Linked DNA regions of Homo sapiens: region 1 is linked to region 2. Evidence: promoter capture Hi-C in human tissues and cell types (Jung and others, 2019). All regions are on one chromosome and are shown on one strand. Each heading gives the region's core, a stretch centred on a gene start or on the middle of the fragment in contact. The rest is flanking DNA. Distances are from core to core; before and after follow the strand shown. Region 1 holds the start of ZNF597 (zinc finger protein 597). Region 2 holds the start of IL32 (interleukin 32).

The links. Contacts are between HindIII fragments. The study calls those that stand out against the background at their distance.
Region 1: the fragment with the promoter of ZNF597 here is called in contact with the fragment with the promoter of IL32 in region 2 in 3 of the 25 tissues and cell types used here (IMR-90 fibroblasts, heart left ventricle and pancreas).

What each region holds. Positions count from the first base shown.
Region 1 is chr16:3,440,889-3,445,298 of GRCh38, forward strand. ZNF597 (zinc finger protein 597) reads right to left here and starts at 2,616. Exons shown (of 4, transcript NM_152457.3): 1 at 2,472-2,616; 2 at 2,233-2,318; 3 at 1-45. The coding sequence starts at 2,265. It overlaps NAA60 (N-alpha-acetyltransferase 60, NatF catalytic subunit), which reads left to right and starts at 2,792. Exons shown (of 8, transcript NM_001083601.3): 1 at 2,792-2,949. RefSeq lists an enhancer at 2,876-3,025. The HindIII fragment of the contact is 11,416 bases long and covers 1-4,325 here.
Region 2 is chr16:3,064,390-3,067,513 of GRCh38, forward strand. IL32 (interleukin 32) reads left to right here and starts at 1,251. Exons shown (of 7, transcript NM_001376923.1): 1 at 1,251-1,298; 2 at 1,395-1,437; 3 at 2,988-3,026. The coding sequence starts at 1,423. RefSeq lists an enhancer at 745-1,054. The HindIII fragment of the contact is 16,762 bases long and covers 1-3,124 here.

The DNA.
Region 1 (4,410 bases), core at 1,366-3,865, 380 kb after region 2:
CTCTTGAGAAAAATACACAGCCAGATCCTCAAAGAGTATTGGTCCCTGAAACACAAGAGCCTGTGTCAGCACAAGAGGGTGGAGGGTCAGCCCCTCACTTAACCTAGGAAGGATGAAAAGAGCTAGAAACATCAGATGCACGGGATAAAAGGCTCGGTGTAAAAGGTTCTTGAGCGCAGAAGTAGGGCAAATGGGTTCTAAGGGGTGGGGTGAGGGTTGGGAAGAAGAGAGTAAACATGGACATACATTTTTAGGCAGTGGTACAAGGACGGTGGACTGTGAGAATTATTGTCTATCTTGAAAGAGAAAAGATGAGGGAATGGCTCTTAGGGAGGCAACCATTAAGTGAGGATGCTCTAAGAAAAGGAGAGGTTTGGGGCCGGGTGTGGTGGCTCATGCCTGTAATCCCAACACTTTGGGAGTCTGAGGGGGATGCAGATGACTTGAGGTCAGGTGTTCGAGACCAGCCTGGCCAATATGGTGAAACCCTGTCTCTACTAAAATTACAAAAATTAAGGCTGGGCACAGTGGCTCACGCCTGTAACCCCAGCACTTTGGAAGGTGGAGGCGAGTGGATCACCTGAGGTCAGGAGTTCAAGACCAGCCTGACCAACATGGTGAAATTCTGTCTGCACTAAATACAAAAAATTAGCCAGGTGTGGTGGCGCATGCCTATAATCCCAGCTACTTGGGAGGCTGAGGCAGGAGAATCATTTGAACCTAGGAGAAAGAGGTTGCAGTAAGCCGAGATTGCACCATTGCACTCCAGCCTGGGCAACAAGAGTAAAACTCCGTCTCAAGCAGAGCTTGCAGTGAGCTGAGATCGTGCCACTGCACTCCAGCCTGGGCAACAGAGCGACACTCCATCTCAAAAACAAAAACAAAAACAAAACAACAACAAAAAAAACTCTGTCTCAAAAAATAAATTAAAATAAAATGAAATTAGCCAGATGTGGTGGCATGCGCCTGTAGTCCCAGCTACTTGGGAGGCTGGGCCAGGAGAATCGTTTGAATCCAGGAGGCAGAGATTGCAGTGAGCCGAGATCGCGCCATTGCACTCCAGCCTAGGCGTCGCAGCGAGACTGTCTCAAAAAAAAAAAAAAAAAGAAAAGAAAAGGAGAAAGTTGGGCAGCCCAGGAAGAATCATAAAGAGATAAAGGTTACAGGATTCTCCCAACATCCTTCCCTTTGCTATTTCCTCTCGTCCCCATGACACTCATTGCTAAGCTCACTCCAGCACTTCATCCAGGCCTACCCCACCTTCTCTAACGGTGTGATAAATTAATCACTTGGGATTTATTATTACTCAACGAGTGTGGAGTCTAGAAATGTGCTTAATTTAAAAATTCATTCAAATTGGAGAAGTACCAAATCTGTAATTTTGGGAACCATTCCAGAAAGTCACTTTTAATCCTAGCACTTTGGGGAGCCGAGGTGGGAGGATAGCTGAAGGCCAGGAGTTCCTTGGCAAAGCAGCAAGACTCCATCTCCATAAAGAAGTTTTAGGCCGGGCGCAGTGGCTCACACCTGTAATTCCAGCACTTTGGGAGACCGAGGCGGGCGGATCACAAGGTCAGGAGATTGAGACCATCCTGGCTAACACGGTGAAACCCCGTCTCTACTAAAAATACAAAAAATTAGCAGGGCGTGGCGGCAGGCGCCTGTAGTCCCATCTACTCGGGAGGCTGAGGCAGGAGAATGGCATGAACCCGGGAGGCGGAGCTTGCAGTGAGCCGAGATCGCGCCACTGCACTCCAGCCTGGGCGACAGAGCGAGACTCTGTATCAAAAAAAAAAAAAAAAGAACTTTTAAAAGTAGCCAGACACTGTGGTATGCGCGCCTCTCAGATACTCGAGAGGCTGAGGCGTAAGGATTCCCTGAGTTCCAGACGGAGCTATGATATCAGCACTGCACTCCAGCCAGACAAGCAACACTCCAGCGACAAGGCCAGACCCTATCTCCAAACAAAACAAAACAAACAGATAAGACATTGAGAAACTCTCTCAGAGATTCCTCCACAGGTCCCTGCTCCCAGTTGGTAGTTCTGAAAGAAGGAAGTTGGTAAACCATTATGTGTGTGGTCTTGGAACGAAGAACACTTGGTCAAAGGGCTATTTGGGGCTCAGGAGCACTCCTACCACAACAGGCATGCCCAACTCTCCTCCAAAGGAGGGGGTCAGGCAGAGACCGAAAGCAGCAATAAACTTGGACGAAAAAGGTACCTCGACTCACCTGGGCCTCGGGCGTCGGGGGCATGGACGCCATTTGGCGGGTGGGGAATGCCTTCTTCAAGACGCCACAGGGACTTCGTGACAAAGCTGCGGGGGGAGAGAACAGTTCTTAAAGGGACCAATTCCGCTGCCAAGTTCCTCCACTACCCCTAGCCTCCCTCGATTCCCTCCGAACCCCCCCTTAAAAACCTACGCCGACTGCTCCTCCTCTTGGCCCGGCCTCGAAAGGGGCCCACTTACCGCTCCGCGGTTAATAACAGGCCTCGCGCTCCCTGACAGGAGCTGCAGAAAGCGACGCCCGACCGAGACGCGACGAAGAACGCCACGGCCACTGCAAAACTCCCACGCTCTCATGCTCCTTTACGCAGGAGCTGCGGGAAAAGCCGCCGGAAGCGACCCGCCCTCAGCCCTCTCCGCCATCCTGCCCTTTGATTGGTCGAAGTTCTCCCGAAGGGGAAGTCCTTCTTTTGTGTTGACCAATTGAACACCTTAACCGAGGACCTGTAGCCACTGGGCAGCTGCGAGAGGTAGTTTTCCTCCTTTTCTCTAAGCAACCATTTCCGCTTCCGCTGGCGGGGTCTCCTCCGTGAGCTCCGGGCCTGTTTGCCTGCTGAAGTAGAGTCTTAGGGTGACCCCAGGGGGACGTAATGTTTCCGAGAAGAAGGACAGAAAGAAGACTGGGAGACACCGGAACTCGAAAGAAAATCGGTAACAAAATGTGGGTTCGGCCAACAGTGCCCTGTAGGCCTGAAATTTCGGTCTGGCCAGAGCAAGGTGATTGAGAGGGCGGGGGTTCGGGCCTAGCCTGGGCTTGAGCTGTCCTTTGTGTCTTGAGCGGATGGTGGGGCCGTGGAACATGAAGGAGTATCTTTGTGTACGTTCACAACGTTCACATCGGTGTAGGCCAGGTTGCTGGACTCTGACTCAAAGTGTTATAGAGGCATTACGTATTGTACCCGCAGCTGCAGCCTAAGCGAGCTGCTTCAGCTTCCTAGTCACAGGATCCCACGCGAGAATAGAGCCATAGGTTAGCGTCGCAGGACGTTGTTCGCCCCCGGATACCTCACATGCAGCCTACCCTAGAGCCAGTCATTTCCTATTGTGTGCTGGGGGAGGAGGGAGTGCCCTGGTGTAGGCATTTGGAATTGGAAAATTGAGCTCCTCCCCAAGCTCTGCCACTGATTGGTTGGTAATCTTGGCCAGTTTACAACTTTGCTTTCCTCAGCTGCAAACAGCTCAGAGTGCCTCTCTGGGCTAACTCAGAGGGTAATTTCAAAGATTATAAGATAATGTAAGTGAAAGAAATTGCCAGTTTATAAAGGTGTTTGGGGAAAAAAAAAGACGAAAATGATAGGTACCTTGATAGAAAAGCCTGAAAAGTCTCAACATATTTCCTTATTCCAGTGCCAGGCACATTCCTGTATCTAAAAGCTTAATGAATGGCTGCATGGTTATTAAAACAATATTAGGAGATTTGACAACTTAGGTAATGTGATTTTGTGGAATATCTGATAGGATAGTTTCAGCTACAAGTAACAGAAAACCCACCGAAAGGATGTTCAAAGAGCAGTTACAGGTTGGTTAATTCGGTGGCCCAGTGACAACATCAAGGTCCCAGTGCTTCTCTGCCACCCTAAGCATGTTGGTAACGTTGACAATAGAATCCAGGTAAAATATACAGACATGTATTGTGTCATGTACCCATCCTAAACTAGTTATTACCAAGAATAAATAATTGTTTGGGGCCCATCATGCTTCAGCCCCTGTCACTAGGGGAAGGACCTAGCCTCCCTTGATAATCTACCTGCACAAAATTAGGGCTTTGTTACAAATGAAAAAAAGAGATGTGGAAAATAAGTTAGATAAGAAACTAGCAGTATCTGCCACAAATGATATCTCTTGACAGCTAACTAAGAGCTAGACCTTGTGGGGATGGATCACAAAAGAGGTAGCTGTGAAGTCCCAGTAAAGGTGCTTCCAGGACAGGTGGAAGAATGGTAAGAACAAACTTGCCTACAGGCTAGACCAGTCCAAAGCATATATGTTGAAGAAGAGCTAATAGCCTGTATATGAAGGTGTAAGTAAAGGAGATGTTCATGGTTGAGTCACTGTGGTGTTCACGTAGTCATCTTTCCCTTCTTGGTTTGTGCTTATCTCTTTTTTTTTTTTTTTTTTGAGA
Region 2 (3,124 bases), core at 1-2,500:
AGTAGCTGGGAATACAGGTGCCGGCCACCACGCAAGGCTAATTTTTGTATTTTTAGTAGAGACAAGGTTTCACCATGTTGGCCAGGCTGGTCTAGAACTCCTGACCTTAGGTGATCTGCCCGCCTCGGCCTCCCAAAGTGTTGGGATTACAGGCGTGACCCACTGCGCCCGGCCTAGGGTGGACCCTATTTCAATATGACTGGTGTCCTTTGGAAAGGGGAAAGGGGGACAGTCACACCCAGGCAGAACGTGATGAAGATGAAGATGGCCATCTACAAGGGCAGGAGAAACCTGAACAGAATCCCAGCTCCGGGCCCTCAGAAGGACCCCACGCTGCCCACATTGACCTTGGACCTCCAGCCTGCAGATCGTGAGGGAAGAGACGTCTTCGACTTAGGGCCCCTTGTCGTGGTACTTCCTTAGTTTGGCCCCAGGAAACCATCCCAAAGGCAAGGGCGTGGTTGTGCTCAGCTGGGGGAAGGGGGCTGGGGGCCGTGAGGAGGAGGTGGGAGGCCCAGCCAGGCTGGAGGGTCAGAACCCGTGGAGCTAGAAGAGCCCGTAGGGGAGCCCCAAGATTGCTGAGACCAGTGACCTTCGGCCCCAGATGGCCTTGCCTTGGCCCAGAAGGGTCAGAAGGACCTGGTCAGCCAAGCTCAGACAGCCGGCAGGATGCCTTCCACCCTGCAGAGGGTCCTATCTTGTCCCACAGGTAGATCTACATCACCACTAGCCACCCCTCCAACGTGCACAGGCCCCTGCCCTCACGGCGCCCCTCTTAGGTCCGGCAGTTCCTGCCTCCTTCTGATCCAGAAGTTTCTCTGGCCTCTGGAGCCGGGGCACACCTCATGCAAGGACAGGGTCCAAATTCCTTTGTCCTTGGATCCCACTTGGCTGACGTCACCTTCCTGTACTCAGGGAGTTTCCCCAGCCAGCTGTCCCGAGTCTGGACTTTCCCTCTGCCCCTCCCCACTCTCAGGCTGGTGGGGTGGGGAAAGCAGCCCATTCCTGGGCTCAGAGACTCCCACCCCAGCTCAGAGGGAGCAGGGGCCCAGCCAGGGACGGACCCTCATTCCTCCCAGGGACCCCAGACCTCTGTCTCTCTCGGGTAAGTCTCCATCTCTGTCTGTCTCTGTCTCTGTCTCTGTCTCTGTCTGTTTTTCACGCACTCAGCAAGGCCTCCTGCCCTGAGAGAGGCTCCGCCCACTACCCCCCACTTTCCCCATAAAACCAGCTGAGTATTTGTGCCAGGAAGACTGCGTGCAGAAGGTGACTGTCTCAGTGGAGCTGGGTCATCTCAGGTGGGGAGTTGGGGTCCCCGAAGGTGAGGACCCTCTGGGGAGGAGGGTGCTTCTCTGAGACACTTTCTTTTCCTCACACCTGTTCCTCGCCAGCAGGCCTTGGCTCCTTGAACTTTTGGCCGCCATGTGCTTCCCGAAGGTGAGTGAGAGGCTGCGTGTGCTTTTGTGGGCATGTCTGAAAACAGACCGTAAGGGTGCGGGTGCCCTCAGTATTTCCCGAGGTGCCTGTGTGTCAGGGCTCAGTCAGGGGCACCCAGCGGCAGGAGGATAGTGATGGGGTGAGAGTGTCAGTGGAGGCGCTGGAGGTCATATGTGTCGGGGGCGCTGGAGAACGGCAGGGGTGTGGATGAGAGGGAGCACCTGTCCCAGGAGCCCTTCACAGCCCGGAAAGCCCGGGGCAGGGGTGGGGCAGGGCTCTGCTGGAAACGACTCGGAGAATGCTTCTCTCAGAGGCCGGCTCAGCTGGGTGGGCCCAAGAGCAAGGCCTGTGTGGGTCCTGGTGTCTCTTCCTCCTTTCCTGGGTTCCCTCCGACCTCCCATCCTCTACCACTGCCCCACCGCAAATGCTAGGCCCACCACACCCTCCAGGGAGCTCTTCGGCCTGTGACAATAGGGGTTTCCATGATGTGGCCTGGCTCAGGTTCAGGACAGTGACCCGGAGGACACATGGCTCCCGCATGTCGGCACGGTGCTGCTTTCACCCTGGTTCCTGGGAAATCAGGCTAGCGGGATGGGACCATCGCTGCCTGAAAGTGTGCAGACAGCTGCCCTGCCCAGAATATGTCCCCAGGCCCTGCGCACTCTGTGGGTGACTGTCACCACTCTATAGTGGGGGAAACCAGGCATGTCACCCCCGAGACTAGGCCCTTGACGTGGGGGCTCAGCGGGGATTCTGTGGGGTGCCTCTGGCCTCTGTGGATGCAGCCACGTGTCTGCAGGCAGGAATGGCCCGGGACCTGTGGGTCTGCATGTTGGCAGTCGGGAAGAGTGGCAGGTTGTAGGGTGGACCTACCTGGCACCCCAAATATTAATCAGCTCATCAGAGAGGAATGGCTGCTGTTACCTTCTCAATTGTCATGTCCCTAAACATTTTTTCCTTGGCCAACTCTCACCTGGGACCATAGTGGTTGTGGGAAACCCAGCTGAGCCAGCCTGCTCCAGGACAGTGTCCATCCTCCCGTGTGTGTACATGGGGGGGTGTGTGTGTGCAGGGAGGACACCCCGGCCCACGCAGGCCCTGCTCTTGTGAGGAGGGGTCACCTAGGCCCACGCAGGCCCTGCTCTTGTGAGGAGGGGTCACCTAGGCCCACGCAGGCCCTGCTCTTGTGAGGAGGGGTCACCTAGGCCCACGCAGGCCCTGCTCTTGTGAGGAGGGGTCACCTAGGCCCACGCAGGCCCTGCTCTTGTGAGGAGGGGTCACCTAGGCCCATGCTGGCCCTGCTCTTGGGCCTGCCCAGCTGAGCCGGCTCCTGAGAGAAGCGCTTTCTGAGTCGTTTCGAGGACAGCCCTGGCCGGTCTTTCCAGGCTGTGAGGGGCTCCTGGGACTGCTGTCTCCTCTTATCCTGTACCTCTGCCATGTGTCTCTGTGTGTGTGTGTGTGTGTGTGTGTGTGTGTGTGTGTGTATAAATTATCCTGGAGGAAAGGTTAAGGTGACACATGGAGACTGAGTGTCACCGTTATTTCCGCAGGTCCTCTCTGATGACATGAAGAAGCTGAAGGCCCGAATGGTAATGCTCCTCCCTACTTCTGCTCAGGGGTTGGGGGCCTGGGTCTCAGCGTGTGACACTGAGGACACTGTGGGACACCTGGGACCCTGGAGGGACAA